6 separate regions of the Homo sapiens genome follow, and regions 1, 2, 3, 5 and 6 are each linked to region 4. The links are contacts of gene promoters, found by promoter capture Hi-C in blood cells and fetal thymus (Javierre and others, 2016). All regions are on one chromosome and are shown on one strand. The core of a region is centred on a gene start or on the middle of the fragment in contact, and the rest is flanking DNA. Distances in the headings are between cores, read along the strand shown.

The links. The method cuts DNA at HindIII sites, captures the fragments that hold promoters and counts their contacts. A CHiCAGO score of 5 or more calls a contact.
Region 1: a fragment that was not itself captured here is called in contact with the fragment with the promoter of GPR27 in region 4 in 6 of 17 cell types (naive B cells, monocytes, total B cells and 3 more); the score reaches 8.4 in naive B cells.
Region 2: a fragment that was not itself captured here is called in contact with the fragment with the promoter of GPR27 in region 4 in 1 of 17 cell types (naive B cells); the score reaches 6.2 in naive B cells.
Region 3: a contact is called between the fragment with the promoter of GXYLT2 here and the fragment with the promoter of GPR27 in region 4, in 7 of 17 cell types (naive B cells, total B cells, erythroblasts and 4 more). The highest score is 11.9, in naive B cells.
Region 5: a fragment that was not itself captured here is called in contact with the fragment with the promoter of GPR27 in region 4 in 1 of 17 cell types (total B cells); the score reaches 6.2 in total B cells.
Region 6: a contact is called between a fragment that was not itself captured here and the fragment with the promoter of GPR27 in region 4, in 1 of 17 cell types (naive B cells). The highest score is 5.0, in naive B cells.

Annotation. Positions count from the first base shown.
Region 1 is chr3:72,821,284-72,824,540 of GRCh38, forward strand. It overlaps SHQ1 (SHQ1, H/ACA ribonucleoprotein assembly factor), which reads right to left. Exons shown (of 11, transcript NM_018130.3): 6 at 3,141-3,257. Among named protein-coding and RNA genes, the nearest start is that of SHQ1, 26 kb to the right of the region's middle. RefSeq lists enhancers at 964-1,013, 1,034-1,313. The HindIII fragment of the contact is 1,649 bases long and covers 655-2,303 here.
Region 2 is chr3:72,801,773-72,805,037 of GRCh38, forward strand. The region is part of intron 9 of SHQ1 (SHQ1, H/ACA ribonucleoprotein assembly factor); the gene reads right to left. Among named protein-coding and RNA genes, the nearest start is that of SHQ1, 45 kb to the right of the region's middle. The HindIII fragment of the contact is 311 bases long and covers 1,138-1,448 here.
Region 3 is chr3:72,886,342-72,889,540 of GRCh38, forward strand. GXYLT2 (glucoside xylosyltransferase 2) reads left to right here and starts at 1,705. Exons shown (of 7, transcript NM_001080393.2): 1 at 1,705-2,167. The coding sequence starts at 1,893. RefSeq lists silencers at 1,745-1,974, 2,075-2,204. The HindIII fragment of the contact is 7,571 bases long and covers 1-3,199 here.
Region 4 is chr3:71,752,574-71,755,408 of GRCh38, forward strand. It overlaps GPR27 (G protein-coupled receptor 27), which reads left to right and starts at 1,282. Exons shown (of 1, transcript NM_018971.3): 1 at 1,282-2,835. The coding sequence starts at 1,477. The coding sequence ends at 2,604. It also overlaps a transcript of EIF4E3 not described here. The HindIII fragment of the contact is 6,251 bases long and covers 1-2,835 here.
Region 5 is chr3:72,781,322-72,784,443 of GRCh38, forward strand. All of the region lies in intron 10 of SHQ1 (SHQ1, H/ACA ribonucleoprotein assembly factor), which reads right to left. Among named protein-coding and RNA genes, the nearest start is that of SHQ1, 66 kb to the right of the region's middle. The HindIII fragment of the contact is 865 bases long and covers 1,431-2,295 here.
Region 6 is chr3:72,844,287-72,847,445 of GRCh38, forward strand. It overlaps SHQ1 (SHQ1, H/ACA ribonucleoprotein assembly factor), which reads right to left. Exons shown (of 11, transcript NM_018130.3): 2 at 73-137. Among named protein-coding and RNA genes, the nearest start is that of SHQ1, 2.6 kb to the right of the region's middle. The HindIII fragment of the contact is 587 bases long and covers 1,540-2,126 here.

The DNA.
Region 1 (3,257 bases), core at 229-2,728, 1.1 Mb after region 4:
TGTCATAACAAGCAATAACGTGCCAAGACTCTGGAGCTTCAGATTAACCACTGAAAGACAACATGGGAAATGCGGTGAGTTCATCCTCATGAAACCAGAGCTCAGGGGAAGCACGGCGTTTAACACTTCCATTTACAAGCCTTTGGGGAGGAAAATCTGGATCACTACAAAGCTGGAGAAAAGTCTCCCTGTTGTAACTCAGGGCTGTGATGAAAACGACAAGAATTACAACCAAGGGAGAAAAAGAGGGAGCAAAGTTCACCACCTAAGGCTTATCTGGAATTCAAAGCAATCTAGGTTAATATTTTATGATACAGAATGAATCAAAGGTACACCCCTCACCTGCACTGTTGTATCTGCCTGGCGACACCTGATGAGGAGGTGTTAAACAGACAACAGCCCACGCTATGACACAAAGAGGAAGAAGGCCAGAGAGGCAAAGAACAAAGAGGAAGAGGAGAAAAGGTACAGCAGCATGCACCATAGTTCAGCAGAAAACTGTGATGTTTATTTCTTGGTTTATTTCTTTTCCCCCATATTTTATCCTGGCTCAACACACTTCAATTTATTCCTCCAATTCTGAGTGCCCCAAATATTTGAACCAGGATTTTTCAAATGAGAGAGAAATCTTGTTAACAAGGAACTTTCCCTTAAAGCTTTCTAAATGTATAAAAATTGTAATTTCACAGAGAAACCATCCAACTCCTGGCTCTCCTGTGACTGATTTTACTCTACAATAATAATTTCTAACATTTACAGGATTTTAAATACATCGTTTCATTCAATCTCAGGACAACTCTGAGGTAGGTACAGCATTCCACAGCAACCCAAAGGTGCAAGATCATATCGCAGGCATGTGGTGGAACAAGAAGTCCAACCCCAAGCCTACATTTAGTTTATATCTTACATTTGGTATTATTAGAAGAGACACGCTGTTCGACACAAAGCTCAAGTTCGTCTACCTTAGATCACATGTCCTTGCTATTTTTAAAGGTGGTTTTTAGAATGAATCACCATAATGGCTTTGCAGACTATGACTGTTCCTGATGCACCAGCCTGGCTATCAGTCATGGGTCAGATGAAGGGTCAGGAGGGCAGGTGGTTAAAAGGACTGAGTGGCTTGATCTCCTGCTAAAATTACACAAAGAAGACTAAGAGCATTGCTGACACAGAAAACTGGACTGAGAACAAGCTACAGTTTATCAAAGTAGAGCAAGTTAGAATTTAAATCAAAGGGAACGCCTTCTCTTGATTTTTAGGGCAACTAGCTCACCCTGGTGGACAGAAAACTCAACTACGCAACCATCAATTTTCTCCCACACCACCTCATTAAAATACCGTGCTAAAATTAGGGAAACTGACTCAAACCAGTTGACACACTTGATGATTTAAGTTTGTTCAAACTTCATGATCAGATCTACCTAGCATGTACAATTAACTATCTATATTCTGTTAGCAATCCTAAACCTGAAAATTTGTCTATATATACATAATGTGAGAAGTCTCTGAAAGCTGCTTAAACTCAAATATAAAAGTCAGGATTTGTTGAAAACGACAATAAATCTATAACAAAGAGTCACTATAGGCCGGGCGCGGGAGCTCACACCTGTAATCCCAGCACTTTGGGAGGCCGAGGCTGGCGGATCACAAGGTCAGGAGATCGAGACCATCCTGGCTAACAGGGTGAAACCCCGTCTCTAGTAAAAACACAAAAAATTAGCCAGGCGCGGTGGCCGGTGCCTGTAGTCCCAGCTACTTGGGAGGCTGAGGTAGGAGAATGGCGTGAAACCGGGAGGCAGAGCTTGCAGTAAGCCGACATTGTGCCACTGCACTCCAGCCTGGGCGACAGAGCAAGACTCCGTCTCAAAAAAAAAAAAAAAAAAAGAGTCACTATAATGAGCTTCTGTTATGCAATAAAGCTAATCCTCTATTTTCTAAAATATTATAGTAGCAATTTTTTGATCTGGTAGAACTCACCTAAACTTTAATAAAACTTAACCATAAAAACATTTATTACAATATTTATAGATATTTACTGAGTACCTTTATATAACAGGCACTATACTAGACACTGAAAAAATAGCAGATAACAGGCTATTGCATTGATATGCAGAAAATAAAAAACTGTGATGCATTAGAGACCCTGTAGCTACTTCAGAATGAGTGGTCAAAGAAGGCCACTATATATACTATTTGCAACTGCAGAAAACAGGAAGTCACCCAAATGTCCACCAGTAGTAAACAGCCCAAATATCCATCAATCATGAAAAAAATATCCAACCGGATACTATGTAATCATGAAAAGCTTCAGGTAGATCTCTACATACTAATATGGAAGATGTGCAACACACACTACAAATTGAAAACAAGGTACAAACCGGGTATACGTGAGTCTATGTGTAGACATTTCTTAAAGCGACTGTTTAGATGTGGGAATATATATTTTTAAAATATCCCCAAAATTGCTAATAGTGATTACTTCCGGGAAGAAGAACTTGGGGTGGGAAGAGTCTATATTCCATTTAATACTCTTCAGAATGTACATATATATGTATTCTTTCCATTTAAACATTGAAATTTTATTTTTAATATGTAAATAAAAGCCAAATCAGTGTGACAGAAAACATGGGTGTTCTCTTCTTGATCTGTCTGCAAATGTTATATTTCTAATGTATAGTCTTAATATATCAATGCTACACTGCACTTAGAGAAGCTGGTAATAACATGTCCATCTAGGTCTTTTCCCACTTGGGTCTTCCCCCCGCCCGTTACTAATACTCAAATGTCCTTACCAAAGAAGAATGTTCATACCTCTTAAGCAGGTTATTGAGAAACTACAAATGTCCTGTGTGATAATATCCCTAAATTTAGGTTTTAAAAAATAATTAATTATAAAAGAACTCCAATGATTCTAAAGGAAACCATACTTCAAAAGAATTTTCCAACACAAATAAGCCTAATTATTTAGCGGCATTTTCCAGTCAGGGGCAAAGAAGTCATTTCCAAAATTAGCAATTCAAACTCATATTTTAACATTATAAGGCAATTACAACTATACGCTTAATAATATGGAAGGCAGTAAACGTGGTACACCATGAGATTTTAAAATGAAACAAATTAGCCGAATTTGAGTTTCTTACCTAATGTAGCATGATTTTCTTGTTCCTGACTCTTTTCCAAAAAGGCCATCATTTTTGAATATTTGTCAGTCCACCAAGGATTATACTTCAAAATCTGTTCAATCGCCTCATCTTCAA
Region 2 (3,265 bases), core at 43-2,542, 1.0 Mb after region 4:
TCTCTACATATAAGTTTAATTTATATGAAAAGGATGCATGAAAATTTTGACTATGAAATTAAGATCTTAGAACTGTGTTCCCCAATTCTAAAAAGCCAAGGAAAGATCATTAAAAAGCTACACATAAATAATCTTATGCAGTTCTTAGCTAATTTCTCACGAAGTAAAAATGGTAACAATCCCAACAGTTCCACTGTGGACCAGCTGTGCAGCCCAGAGTTTGCTTTGCTTCTGGTACCACTTCTTAACCGTTCGGTACTTAATCTGAATCTGTTTCCACAGGGATAAATTGGAAGAAAAATTCTTAAGAATTGCTATGGAAATTAAATGAGACAACAAACATGTAAGTACTTTACATATGAAAAGGGAAGGAGGACAACGGGTAGTATGGATCAGCCCTGGCACTCCCATTACTGGTCCCTGCCCCACTACCTGTGAAGCACCTGCCCACATATTCCTTCCTCCTCGGTGCCGTGGCTAGCACTCTAGTTCAGACCATACTGTCTGTCCCCAGACTTCCTTGGGTCTAGGCAAGAATAGGTCTCCTCTCTTCTCCATGCCCACTAACCTCACCCTTCTCAATGACTCTATCCTAAGTGCTGCTGCCAGATGAATCTAATTTCATAAGCCTCTCACCGGCTCCAATGCCAAACTCTTCAGTGGTTCCTCCCTGAATAAGACCCAAACTCATCAGCAAGCCATTGCAGGCTCCTTTCAGCCCGGTCCCAGCACACTGTTTCTACCTTTATCCTACCATTCCCCTTCACACCTCTGGCCTCCAGACAGATGGGAATTTGCCCTTTCTTGGACATGGAACTCTTTTATATTCCTTTTTCTGATTTTTTTGCCTTCTACTTTCTCAGGGAATACCGCTCCTCCACATCTTCTTTTCTAAATCCTACACATTCTTTAGTAACTACCATTATATATCACTCATTAGGTCTATGCTGTTTGCTCCTTCCCTATTAATCCCTCCTCCCACTACTAACAAGCACTCTATCAGGGTCAGAGTGAGGTGTGGTACTGGAGGTACTGAAATCCTATCACTCATCTCCTCCACCCTGACCAGGCTCTGGCTGACAAGAGTAACAATACAAAGTAGTCAAAAGAGAGGCAGGGGATCCACTTTTTTAAAAAAGCTTTCTGGTATTAACTACATTAGACAATGCGGGACATCTCTTACCTCCTTTGCCTGCCCCAATCTTAGAACCTGTATCAGGTTGAGACTCAGTCTCAAGCTAGGACTGAAGGAGCAAAGACCTGGTGCAAGCCTTCACTGCAGCTAAAACTGGCAGGTCCAAGAGGGTATGAGAAAGACACGCTGGCACTTAGCTTGCTTTAGAGCAGAGACTGAAAACTGGGGGCCTCCCAGGCTGACCTGGGCTCTCAGACATGCTATGGCTCTTACAGTGTGATTTTACATTACTTTACTTCTTTGTTCATACTTAAGCTTTAAAAAAATTTTAAAGATCATTTTACTTTCTACTTCTTTTTAAAACTGGCAATACTATATATTCACACAGCAACAGTAGGCTACAGTCGAGCCATGTATCTCTTCAGTTCACACAGGCCTCATTAGTCTCTATTTCCTTAAACCCTAGCATCCTTATTCATTTACCTGCTTGGCGAAGTAGGCATCTCAGTTTGCTTCTCCTAATGTACAGAAGCCTACTCTAATGTGAGCCAACTATATCAGCTAAGTCTCACCTTGTGGGAAGGCGAGAGAAAATAGCTGAAATGATCTACTTCAATGCTGGCCACTATTTGGAATGGCAAGCAGCCAAAGACCTCGGCTCCCTACAAAAGGGCTCCCCTCCAACCTCCATGTACATACCTAAGGCAGAGGTGGTAAATTTTCTCTGTAAAGAGATAGAAAGTAAATATTTTGGCTTTGCAGGACAATCTCTGATGCACTTACTCAATTCTGTCATCTTACCGCAAAAGCAGCCATAGACAATATGTAAGTGAATGAGCCTGTGTTTCAATAAAACTTTATTTATGGACTCTAAAATGAGAATTTCAAATAATTTTCCCAAGTAACAAAATATTATTTTTTTTCAACGATTTAAAAATGTAAAAAGCATTGTTAGCTCAAGGGCAATACAAGATGGATTTGGCCTGTGGATGGCCATTAAGGTAATTTCTTTTTTCTTTTCTTGTTAGAGACAAGGTCTTACCCTGTCACCCAAGCTGCAGCGCAGTGGCATGATCATAGCTCACTGTAACCTCGAACTCCTGGGCTCAAGCAATCCTCCTGCCTCGGGATCCCAAGTAGTTAGGACTATAGGCACACACAACTACGCCCTGCTAATTTAAAAAACATTTTTTTTTTCTAGAAACAAGGTCTCACTATGTTGCCCAGGCTGGTCTCAAACTCCTGGCTTCAAGAGATCTTCCCACTTTTACCTCCCAAAGTGCTGAGTTTACAGGCATGAGCCACCATACCTGTCCATTAAGGTATGTTTTTAAGGGAGTCTCCCCTTTGTATCTTATATTATAAACACTTATATTTTGTTTTTGTTTTGAACTTTTAAGTTCAGAGGTATGTGTGTCATGGTGGTTTACTGCACAGATCATCCCATCACCCAGGTATTAAGCCCAGTATCCACTAGCTGTTCTTCCTGATCCTCTCCCTCCTCCGGCACCACCCCCCCACCCCGCCACCCTCCGAAAGGCCCCAATGGGTGTTGTTGCCCGTGTCCATGTGTTCTCATCATAAATACTTACATTTTGTACCTTATCTTTTGACCTATCATTCCTATTACACAATAAACTCCCTAAGAGCTAAGACCAAGTCATAAATATCCTTGTAACTCTTCACCAATTCTGTTATACTCCCTTGCACGGAGAATAGATTTGATTCATGTCTGCTGAATAAATAAATATCTGCCACTTGTTATTTTCCAACATTAACTTCTTACTTAAAGAAACTTTAAGTTGGGATATGGTGGCTCACACCTGTCAACCAGCACTTTGGGAGGCTGAGGCAGGAGGATAGCTTGAGCCCAAGAGTTTGAAGTTGCAATGAGCCATGATTATGCCATACTGTACCCCAGGCTGAGTGACAGAGTGAGACCTTGTCCCTAAAAAATAAATGAAACTCTAAATTACCTAAATATATACATAATCAGGTGTTGCTTAATGATTTGGATATGTTCTGAGAAATGCGTCATTAGGTAATTCTGTCATGTGAACGTCACAGAATGTACTTACACAAACCTAGATGGTAGAGTCCACTACACACCTAGGCTATGGTATAGCCAGT
Region 3 (3,199 bases), core at 455-2,954, 1.1 Mb after region 4:
CCCTCATCTTTGAGAACTAATGGATTCTTTGCGCTTACTCACCTACAACATGTCCCCCACACTGAACTTGCACCCTGCCATTTCCTAGATGTCTGCTTGGCAAGAGCTTCCAAATTACTAAATATTCTCATCTCTAGAACTTTTAATACAATGGGTTCTCAAGGAATTAAAATAAAATGCTAATATGAGAATAATTCAGAATATAACTAAATTTTAGATTATTTATAAAGCAACATGGAATCTTGTAGAAACTCAGGGACGGGCTGGGCGCGGTGGCTCATGCCTGTAATCCCAGCACTTTGGAAGAACGAGACGGGCGGATCACTTGAGGTCAGGTGTTCAAGACCAGCCTGGCCAACGTGGTGAAACCCCGTCTCTACTAAATATACAAAAATCAGCCGGGTGTGGTGGCGCAGCCTGTAATCCCAGCTACTTGGGAGGCTGAGGCAGGAGAATGGCTTGAACCCGGGAGGCGGAGGCTGCGGTGAGTTAAGATTGCACCATTGCACTCCTGCCTGGGCTACAGAGTGATCCAAAAAAAAAAAAAAAAAAAAAACTGAAAAACTCAGGGACGTTGTTATAACTTAACTAGTGTTCTTTGTTCTGTGGTGTGCTGAAAAGAGAGTTAATGGAGTCCTGGCTGTCAGTTCACCGTGAGTCATAAGAGGATGTGTCCTAATGTTTCAGATTTGTAACTGGGGATCCCCTGGAAGAATCGTCTGGAAATTACGACCTTCATCTGGCGATTGCAGCTGTTAAAGTCTCCAAAGAAGCCATTCTTACATTGTGTTGTGAAATTATTACTCTATCTCAAATCTGTGCCAGAAAGAAAATAAAATGTGTGTTTATGTGTATATTATAAGCTATGTTTTATTGAACTAATCATTACAGAACTTTTATTGGGCACCGACTGTGAGCCAGGCACTGTGCTAGTTTCTTTGAAGGCATTATTTAATTTAATGCTCACAAAACGCCTCTGTAGTGAGCAGTATTGTCATTCCCATTTTGCACGTAAGGAAGTTAAGGCTTAAGAAAGTTGTGCAGCTTCCTCAGGATCACCAAGCCAGTTAAGCACAGTGTCAGATTTCAAATCCAAACTTTGAAATTCATTCTCTAATTTCTTCAGACTACATGGATCGGTTCGGTCCAGTCTAGCTGTCCCAAGTTCTACTTTGGTGTTTTGAGTCTGAAACCCCAACTACTAATCACGTGTTACTTTTACTCGCTTTGCCTTATTTTGCATGTGTCCTTGTTGAATATGTCCTCCTCCAGGAAAAAGGGAGGTGGCAAGACAGAGGCGGCAATAGGGGTTTATTCAACAGATATTTATTGGGCACCACCACCCGCAGATCCCTGCACTGGGCAAACAGGACAGAGATGTTCCTGCCTGAAAGGATGTGTGGATAAGTGCACAAATGTGTGGATAGATGGATAAAATAAATAAGGAGGAAGCACATGGAATACATCAACAAATAAGTGAATCATGGTATGAGAGAATCAGCGGGAACAGTGGATGGCATGGGTGTGTGAGTGAATGGGGAAGTAAACGAACGAACGAACGAATGAATGAATGAAGTGGTTTTGAGTCTGAGCTACCAGAAGCCCGAGAGCCTGGCTGCGGGCGGGCGGAGGGGCGGCTACTCCACACAGTACGGTAGGCGCAGGCTGCTCCTCCTGTAACCCAGCTCTCACCGCCTCCCCCTCCTCTCCTCTCTCTCCTCCTCCTTCGCCGTCGCCGCCGCCGCCGGCCGCCCGCCGGCCGCCACGACCCCAGTCCCCGGCGGGCGGGCGGAGGAGGCGACCGCCGCGCGCTGCTGCACTCATCCTGCCGCCGCCGCGATGCGCAGAGGGGCCGAGCCGCCTGGGGGCCGCCGCCGCCGCCGCGCCGCACCATGAAGCTCCGCAGCAAGGCGGCGGCGCTGCTCTTGCTCGCGCTGGCCGCGCTGCTGCTGGCGCTGCTGTCCCTGCGCGCTGGCCGCGCTGAGCCCCCAGCGCTGCCCGCGCGCCCCGCGTCCGCCCCGCAGCGCCACCCCGCGCCTGTCCCCGCGCGCTGGCCGGGGCCGGGCGCCCTCCCCGGGGCCAGCCCGGGAGTTCGGAGGCGCCGGCCCCCGCGTCCGCGCCCCCGAGCGGGCCGCCGGGGCGCTGCGAGACTGGAGAAGTTGGCGAGGTGAGTCGTGGCAACCCCAGAATCCCATCTGCGGACCCGTGTCTCGCTCCCTACACCCGTGCCAAGTCCAAGGGAGGCTTTGCGCTGGAGAGACAGATTTCCAAGTTTCACCCACGGGCTGCCCACTTCTGTTTCTTAACCCGATAGAAAAGAAGACCCACCTTGGTGGAGTCCCCCTAACAGCTCGGTGTTGATAATCACGTACATTTTTTGAAGTGTCAAGGAAAGTGGTTTCGTACATTACATTTTTTAACTGTCAAGGCAAGGCGTATTTTTGCACTCTTGCAAACATGCACCCTTTGTTTAATTTGTCAAAAGCCATCACGGTGCAAGAATGTTTTATCTAATTCTCATGTTTCACTGGAGAATTTTACCGAAACCTTAGATATGGTTGAGTTGGAAAAGTTAGATGTTTACCAAGGACTGGCAGCCTCTCATTTAACCTCGAGTACCCCCATGCTTAGAACAGAAGGGACACTTGACCTAAGTTTATTAAAAAGAAGTTTTCTCCTTGAAAGGACTGATGCGTGGCACAGAAAAGACAGAGTGGGGGTTTCCAGATCCTCATTCTGTTTCAGGCTCGAGTGTGGTCAAAGGGTCCTCCTACAAGAAAAACAACTTAACCTTCGACCTTCTGTTTGATACTCTCTTTCCCTACACAAAGCCTAACACGCGGAGGCTTTTCATCAGAGAGCTTTATTTTTGGCCTCAGGGTTGCTGGAACGCCCCGCAGGTTAGGGATTTGAGTTCATTTCCTTTGTTGTGGAGGGCTTTTCAACAATCCCCTTGTCTTGTAGCGAGTCTGTTTCATCTGCCCTTTCAAAACTGTTGTTTCTAACTGCCATTGCAACGTCCTTGTTTGCTGGGCTCCTTAATTTCAACCTGAAAGGAGTTGAAAAATTATTTTTGACCATAATGACTAAATCTCTTTGGTGCCTTTACTGTAACTAAAAGACACGAAACCTCAAGAAGTAGCTGTGTCAGCCTTTGTTTCCCTTCTGTCTCAGTACAAATGGGTACTGACAAGTTTTA
Region 4 (2,835 bases), core at 32-2,531:
GTGAGAAACAATGCGTTGCTTAATTCTGGCTTTACCATGCTAAGCACTGGGGATGCAGTGGTACCAAAAACCAGGCATGATCCCTTGCCTTCAAAGAGCTTAGAGCCTAGTTAGAAGAGCATGATTTTTAAAAAGAAATGAAAGTATATAATGACAAATTATAAGTGCTAAGAAGGAAATGACTAGAGGGCAGGGATACAGAGTAAAACAGACGGGTTAGAAGGAGGCCCTACGGAGAGGGAGCCTGTTGTGGGGCTGGTCCAGGCAGAGGTACCAGCACATGCAAGGTCCTGCGAGACAAATGCGGTGTGTCTGAGAATCATAACAGGGGCTGCCCTTTCAGGCTTACCCAGAAAATAGATATCCTGGGAGGAAGGTGGCATAGGGTTCACCTTCCAAGTCACTTAAAGATGAAATGCTGCATTTCTTTTCCCTGATATAGGTCCTTCACCGGGATCACGGATGAGTTAGCGAGCAGGGGATGCTGCGGAGTCGCTGTGAGTCCAGCACTGGAAATCAGACCAAGCGAAATTTGAATCCCAGCTCCGCTACTTCCCGGCTCTCAACTCCCTTGACCTCCAAGCCTCTGCTTCCTGAGGTATAAAGTGGGATTAAGGATGGCAACAACTTCGTGATTACTGTTGAGGGAGATAATGCTTGCCAAGCTCCCCAGCACACTGCCACCCACATCAGTGCGCACCTGAGTATCAGCGGTTTTAGGATTACGATGACTATTACTATCGTAAATTACTCCCAGCTTTCGGGCAGAAGGCTCATTCCAGATATTCCTGTCCCCTCTGAGGCCTCCCGACCCTGCCAGCCCAGGCAACCTCCCCCGCGCACGGCCACCGTGACCCCAGCGCGGGCGCCGCCGCCGGACCCCCGTTACCTGGGGCCAAACGCGACTTGTCGCCACCTTGCGTCCTGGGCCCTGCCTCCCTCCCGGCCGCCTCCCGACCCCGCGGCTGCTGCGGAGGCGCCCCCAGCCCAGCCGGGCCCAGGCGGTGCGGGATGCCTCGGCGGGGCTGGCGGCGGCGGCCGCGCTGCGCGCTCCGGCGGAGGGGAGGGGGCTCCGCGGCGGCGGCGGCGGCGGCGGCAGCGGCGGCAGCGGCGGCGGCGGGCCCGGCGGGGGGCAGAGCCAAGAGGCGCGGCGGCAGCAGCGGAGGAGTAGGAGGAGACGGAGGAGGATGCGGGGGGCTGCGGACGGTGGCGAGGCCCTGTCCGCAGTGAAGCCCGCGGCGCCTAGGGCGCAGGGAGTGGCCGCCTCCTCCTGCGCGCACCATTCCTGAGATGGCGGCGGCGGCACAGCGGCGGCTCGGGGAGCCCAGGAGGGGCCGGCCGGGAGCGGGCTGAGCCCCGCAGGACGGGGAGCTCGCCCAGGGCCGGCGGAGCGGCGGAGCTCGGGCCGGGCGGCCTGCGGGAGCGGCGAGGCAGGGGACGGCCCCGGGGCGGAGCGCACGGCCTGGTGAGGCCGCGATGGCGAACGCGAGCGAGCCGGGTGGCAGCGGCGGCGGCGAGGCGGCCGCCCTGGGCCTCAAGCTGGCCACGCTCAGCCTGCTGCTGTGCGTGAGCCTAGCGGGCAACGTGCTGTTCGCGCTGCTGATCGTGCGGGAGCGCAGCCTGCACCGCGCCCCGTACTACCTGCTGCTCGACCTGTGCCTGGCCGACGGGCTGCGCGCGCTCGCCTGCCTCCCGGCCGTCATGCTGGCGGCGCGGCGTGCGGCGGCCGCGGCGGGGGCGCCGCCGGGCGCGCTGGGCTGCAAGCTGCTCGCCTTCCTGGCCGCGCTCTTCTGCTTCCACGCCGCCTTCCTGCTGCTGGGCGTGGGCGTCACCCGCTACCTGGCCATCGCGCACCACCGCTTCTATGCAGAGCGCCTGGCCGGCTGGCCGTGCGCCGCCATGCTGGTGTGCGCCGCCTGGGCGCTGGCGCTGGCCGCGGCCTTCCCGCCAGTGCTGGACGGCGGTGGCGACGACGAGGACGCGCCGTGCGCCCTGGAGCAGCGGCCCGACGGCGCCCCCGGCGCGCTGGGCTTCCTGCTGCTGCTGGCCGTGGTGGTGGGCGCCACGCACCTCGTCTACCTCCGCCTGCTCTTCTTCATCCACGACCGCCGCAAGATGCGGCCCGCGCGCCTGGTGCCCGCCGTCAGCCACGACTGGACCTTCCACGGCCCGGGCGCCACCGGCCAGGCGGCCGCCAACTGGACGGCGGGCTTCGGCCGCGGGCCCACGCCGCCCGCGCTTGTGGGCATCCGGCCCGCAGGGCCGGGCCGCGGCGCGCGCCGCCTCCTCGTGCTGGAAGAATTCAAGACGGAGAAGAGGCTGTGCAAGATGTTCTACGCCGTCACGCTGCTCTTCCTGCTCCTCTGGGGGCCCTACGTCGTGGCCAGCTACCTGCGGGTCCTGGTGCGGCCCGGCGCCGTCCCCCAGGCCTACCTGACGGCCTCCGTGTGGCTGACCTTCGCGCAGGCCGGCATCAACCCCGTCGTGTGCTTCCTCTTCAACAGGGAGCTGAGGGACTGCTTCAGGGCCCAGTTCCCCTGCTGCCAGAGCCCCCGGACCACCCAGGCGACCCATCCCTGCGACCTGAAAGGCATTGGTTTATGAGGGAGGCCCCGCCACATAGACCCCCAACCCAGCCTTTCCCTTTGGCTCGGACGGTGACGTTGTATCTTTTCCTTCTGGCCCCTGTTTAATTTTCTAAGCTGCCTTCAAAATGACTCGAAGTGGACAGACACTTGGATTGTACTGACTCCTTTGGGGGTGGGGTGGGTGAGGAGTAGGATGCTCAGCCCACTCCAGCTCCGCACATTCGTCCTCCTAACTCGACTTTCTTCC
Region 5 (3,122 bases), core at 613-3,112, 1.0 Mb after region 4:
CTGGGATTATGGGCGTGAGACACCATGCACAGCCTCAGGTGAGATTTTCAAGAAGGGCTCGCATTTCAGAAAAAGACGGCCCTTATACCCTACATGAAATGAAATAAACACAATAATTAGATAATTCTTCAGTGCTTGAGTTTTCCCAAATATGAACTTAGCATTTAAGTCAGGTAGTTAATTTGACACTACAAATGCAGTTTTTCTCATTGTTTTGGTGCACCATTTTATTATTTACATAAAATTACAGAGCAGAAAGAAGAGACCATATCATCAGGAGTCTTTAATTGGCAGAGACTGACTAGAGTCCCCGAACCCCAACACTAATTTCCTGGCAGAGGCAATCCCAGCCCTGCCATAACTTAGGCTTTGAGAAAAAAGGTGTATGACTCTCTTTGAAAATAGGAATGGCTGTTCCATGAAGCAGTGGCCTTTTAAGCTTCTAATCAAATATCACATCACTAAAAAAAAAGGTATGGTAAGTAGCCACTAAAAATCATTTTTGCCATCAATCCCTGTATAAAATATTTATGAAGCTTAATTTCATTCTCAAAAAATAATTATAGGTAGAAGGTCTATTACAGTTTTCCTATACCCCAAAAAGATTGTTTTATGTACTCCCTGGAAAAAGTGGACCTCCATAGGAAGCCACAGCAATAGAAAATTTAGAGAATAAATAAATACTCTAAATCACAATTTCAGGATATTATAAAACTCTCCAGGAAAAGACAGTAAGACAAGCACAAAACAGAAAACATGATCCACTTCATGAAAGTCCTAATTTATCACTTTAAGCTTAACAGAAGTATAAAGCTCTTATGTGAAAAGGACAATAGAAACATGTAATAGCTAATATTTCCTTTAGTTTAAACCTTCCATAATGCCACACTAAATGAAAACATCTAAAATTGGATCAGAAATTTGCTTATATCCAACCATTAAAATAGAATTTATCAATTTCTCTCAATGCTCTGCTAATATCTATGTTTTCTTAAGCAAAAACAATTTCCTTGAAAGCTGTTTAAATTGAAACAGTACAAGAATAATCAATGAAAAAAACTGTAAAATGTCATATAAATCACTTAAAATCCAGAAATATACCTCAAGAAGGTCCTTTTCCAACACTCCATGCCCAAAGATATGTTCCACAGCTCTGTTTATTATTTTCCCAGCTTCTATTTATTAAAGAAAGTAGTCAGAGCAGGAAATGGGACAAGTCAAATGATCACAATCAATCTCATCACCTTTGCAACATGCTGGGAATGTAATTAATCCTCTATTTATTTAGGGGACTTCACACCCCTTACATTAAGGCAGCAACTCCCTGTTGGCTTCAGCTGAGATAATTATGTTATAACAAAGATTGGGTTTCAATCATAATAGACAGAAGAAAAAGGAAATTGTACTTGAAGTTGTCAGCTTTTTTAAAAAGCTTTCTCGTGACTCCATTGAAAGAATGCTCTTGACAAAGCTCTCCTTAAACAGAGCACTTTCTAAGTATGATAACCACACATATGCCACATTAATCAATGTAAGCCTTTTCTCTGAATAAGATGTTAAGACTATTCAAGCACAGTGAAAATTCTACGTGAAGTAGAGAATACTGGTTTATAAAACCTGACTAAATCAATCACCACCCTAACTCACTTGATCCTGTGGGTCTCCCTCCAAAGAGAATCCTCCAAAGAGCTTTGAGGTACAAAAATACACAAGAACAAGGAGATGAAGGAAAATAGCAATTTGCTTACTCTGTAAAAAGCCATGGCTCCACCAAGCCAAAACCAAGGACTTGGGCAGTCTACAGCCAAGTATCAGGGACTAAAACAAGAAAGAACAGAGACTTCTAACACAGCCACCCAGCCACAGCTATAAAATGGGCTTGATATACATACTACTCCCTAGATAAAGGTAGAGTATTTTCCACGCTTATTCACCTCTGAAAATGGTTCATATGTATCTCCACATCTTCTCCTCTAACCTCCTCCACCTTAAGAAAATTAACATGAAACTATAAAGGCCTTGCCCAATTTATTTTTATACACTTTTTTTTTTTTTTTTTTTGAGATGGGGTCTCCCTCTGTCACTCAGGCTGGAGTGCTGTGGCATGATCTTGGCTCACTACAGCCTTGAACTCCTGGGTTCAAGCACATGCCATCATGCCCAGTTTTGCTTTGTTGAGACACGGTCTCATTATGGTGCCCAAGCTGGTCTCGAACTCCTGTCCTCAACTGATCCTCCCACTTCAGCCTCCCAAAGTGATGGGATTATAGGCATGAGCCAGCATGCCCAGCCCTAAGCTTTCTCTATTTTTATCAATGTATCATAATCATGATGTCCATGGTACATATGTAAGTAAAAATGATAAATGAATTATGTTTCTATTTCTAAAAATTCTCAAATACGTCAAACCCATTTTTTCCAAGTCTGGATTCATGATGATTAGAATGTTTGTATGTATTAAGCTCCTCAGGTATCTGAGTATCTCAACAATATTTCACTTACCTTTCATAGCATTTAAGCTCTTGAATAACCAAAATGTCCAAGAAATTGAGCACTACTCAATTTCCAGTTCTTTAGTAAAAGCAAAACAAAATGTGGTCTCATAGAAGAGAAAAAGGACATTAGGTAAAAACTAAGAAAATCTAAATAAACTTTAGTTAATAATAACATCAATATTCGTTCATTAATTGTGACAAATATATCATTCCAATATAAGAGGTTAACAGAGAAACCTGGGTAGGGTACATGGGAACTCTGTACTATCTCTGCAATTTTTCTGCAAATCTAAAACTATTCTAAAATAAAAAGTCTACCTAAAAAAAAAAAAGATACAAATTACAAATTAAAAAAAAAAAGAACAACAAAAATATCCCATAAACCTTTAACATTCAAATATATAATTCTTTTGTTAGTTTTTTCAATACACTTAGTTACAGGAAGCATTCATATCTTTATAAAAGGTTATTTTAGTCTTAGATCTGTAGGAACATTTGTAATCCTGTGATTTATTGGCACATTTCTTGTAAGAGAAGTCTAATGAAGAGCAACAGTCCCCAGTGGGCACTGCTGAGCTACTGGTGATAAGGTACAGAACCATTAAGTAAATCCTTTCTATATGAAAC
Region 6 (3,159 bases), core at 583-3,082, 1.1 Mb after region 4:
CTTGTAAGATTATTATGTAAATAATGTGAAAAATCCCAAGAAATAAACTAACAAAAATTCCAAAGACAATACCTTTATCTGCATCATAGGACCCTTGCTCACTTCCATTTTCTACAATTCTTCCAGGAAGGGTTAATCTGCAGATTTAACACAGGTCTCATGAAGTCCTTAAATTATAACGTAACATAAGTGGCCATCAATACTTGCAAACATTTAACCATCAAAATATATCAATCATTTTTTAAGAAGTTCCTCAGTATTTCTTTCACATTTTAATAAACTAAGTTAGATTCTTTCCCCAACCAAGAAAGTAGAAATTAGAGATGACTCATCTTTCTATTTGAATACCCCTAGTCACCAACAAAATAGATACTGAAAAAGAAAAGCCATAATAAATAGTAGTTATCACTATTGTTATAACACAAGTTGAGTATCCCTAATCTGAAAATCTGAAATGCTCCAAAATCTGAAACTTTTTGAGCACCAACATGACACCACAAAGTGGAAAACTCCACACTTGACCTCATGTGATGAGTCACAGTCAAAAAGCAGTCAAAACTTGGCTGCATACACAAAAGTATTAAAAAATTACATAAAACTATCTTCTGGCTATATGTATAAGGTGTATATAAAACAAATAAATTTTGTGTTTAAACTTGAGTTCCATCCTCAAGATATCTCATTATGTATGCAAAAATATTCCAAAACTCTAGAAAATCTGAAATTTCATATAAGGGACACTCAATCTGTACAGATAAGGGATACTCAATGGGAAACAATAAAGAAACACAAAACCAATTGATTTTATCAGGCAAATTACTACTTTAAAAAAAAAGCAGAAAGCAAAAGTGTCAAATCTCATCATTATTATGTAGGGATTTACCCCTCTTTTGTACTAAAAGAAATGAAGTGATTGGCTGGGCGTGGTGGCTTACGCCTGTAATCCTAGCACTTTGGGAGGCCGAGGTGGGTCGATCACCTTAGGTCAGGAGTTCAAGACCAACATGGCCAAAATGGAGAAACCCTATATCTACTAAAAATACAAAATTAGCCAGGCATAGTGGTGCACACCTGTAACCCCAGCCAGTCAGGAGGCTGAGGCAGAAGAATCACTTGAACCCAGGAAGGGGAGGTTGCAGTGAGCCGAGATCATTTGCCACTGCACTCCAGCCTGGGCAACAGAGTGAGATTCTGTGTCCAAAAAAAAAAAAAGAAAAAAGAAATGAAGTGATTTCCCTGCTTCCAGTTTTACCCTAGTTCAATCAGTCTTCCACTGAGGCTCCAAAATAATTTTTCTAAAACAGGAATCTAATTGTCACTTTTCTATTTTAAAAAGTGTCTATGGCTGCCTCATGTTGCCTAGATAATTTAAACTTATCAGAAGGGCATATCAGGCCCACTCCATATCATTCCAAACTTGAAATTTGAGCTTCCTTTCTTCCCATGGCCCTCCCCCTTGTTTCCTACTAAATATGATTAAAAACAAAAACAGCTGACAGTCCCAAAAGGCCCAGGACCTTTAATCCCAAGGTTTCCTCAAGCTTCAATACATTTTCAGAATGAAAATCCCTCTAAGCCAGAATAAGGGGTCAGTTTATGGATGAGTTTGTTATAATGGTTACAAACGCTAACTTTAGTGTCAGAATCTGAATTAACTCCTAGATCTGCCATTTACCAGATGTGTAACAACCTTCTTTGTACAAGTTAATTATTCTTCAAGAATCATAAATCCCTCTTCTGTAAAGGGGGGAAATAACAGTAACTATCCAAGCGTTACTATGAGCATGAAATGATAATGCAAAGAGCTTAGTGGCCGGCACAACAGGTGAGCATTCAGAAAATGTGAGCTATTATTACCAGCTCCCTTCCCCTAAACTCTATAAGCCTAGAGTTAAATTCTTACTGCAGAGAAAATTATATTTGCTTACATGGGGCCTCCGCAGCTACAGTCTCCATTCTTCAAGGAGAGGGACCAGGTTTTATTCATCCTTGGTATAGCAAACTGTATGTTCTTTTTTTTTTTTTTTTTAGACAGTCTCGCTCTGTTACTCAGGCTGGAGTGCGATAGCGCAATCTTGGCTCACTGCAACCTTCGCCCCCCAGGTTCAAGCGATTCTCTCACCTCAAGCTTCCCAAGTAGCTAGGACTACAAGCGCGTGCCATCAAGCCCAGATAATTTTTTTGTATTTTTAGTACAGATGGGGTTTAACCATGTTGGTCAGGCCGGTCTCAAACTCCTGACCTCAAGTGATCTGCCCACCTCGGCATCCCAAAGTGCTGGGATTACAGGAGTGAGCCACCACATCTGGGGGCAAACTGTATTATCAAAGAATGCCCATCTCACAGCACTCTTCCCAACCATGAAGGTCTATGTTCCCTCCCCTTAAAATTCAGCAGGCTCTGGGACTGTTTTGATGAATACAATAAAGCAGAAGTGACACAGGAATTAGACCTTTAACATATGAATTTGGGGACAAGAGTTGGGGGGGTGCCCACAAATAATCCATCCACGGCAACGGGTAAATAATAAAGCCTCGTTGTAACACTGTCCTAATAACAAATGAGATAATCCGTATAAAGCACTAACCTGGAGTAAAAATTCAATAAATATTTGCTACCACCATAATCTTCTTCCTATTCTTCACATCTTGGCTTAAATATCGCCTCCCCAGAAAGGCTTTTCCTGACCACTTTATAAAACATGGGCCCTTTTTCATTCTCTATTAGTGCACTTCTTTCTCCTCATAGCACTCACCACAATTAAGTACACTGTTTATTGTTTTCCTCTCCCCAGTGAAAAGTACATGAGGGCAGGACTTTGTCTTGTTCAGCACAATAATACCAACACTGAAACTCAATAAATAAATTAAAGAAATAAGTGAATTAAAAAACTGGAAAGTGCAATAATTCAAATACGGACGTTATATGGTCTAAGGGAAATCTGAGCAAAACTGGTTCAGCAACAGTGAAAAAACCACCTTGACTGGTGGAGAAGGTTTGTACCACAAAAGTACTTGGGTGGGAAAAGTAGGATGCAGCTACACTTCAGAAAGATTAGGAGGATGGATAAAGAGAAGGACAAGAGATTGGCAATACTTTAGGATGAATATGTAGCAGCGGGTTCTGTGGAATGGGGTTAATAGCAGTGCTTATCCCTAA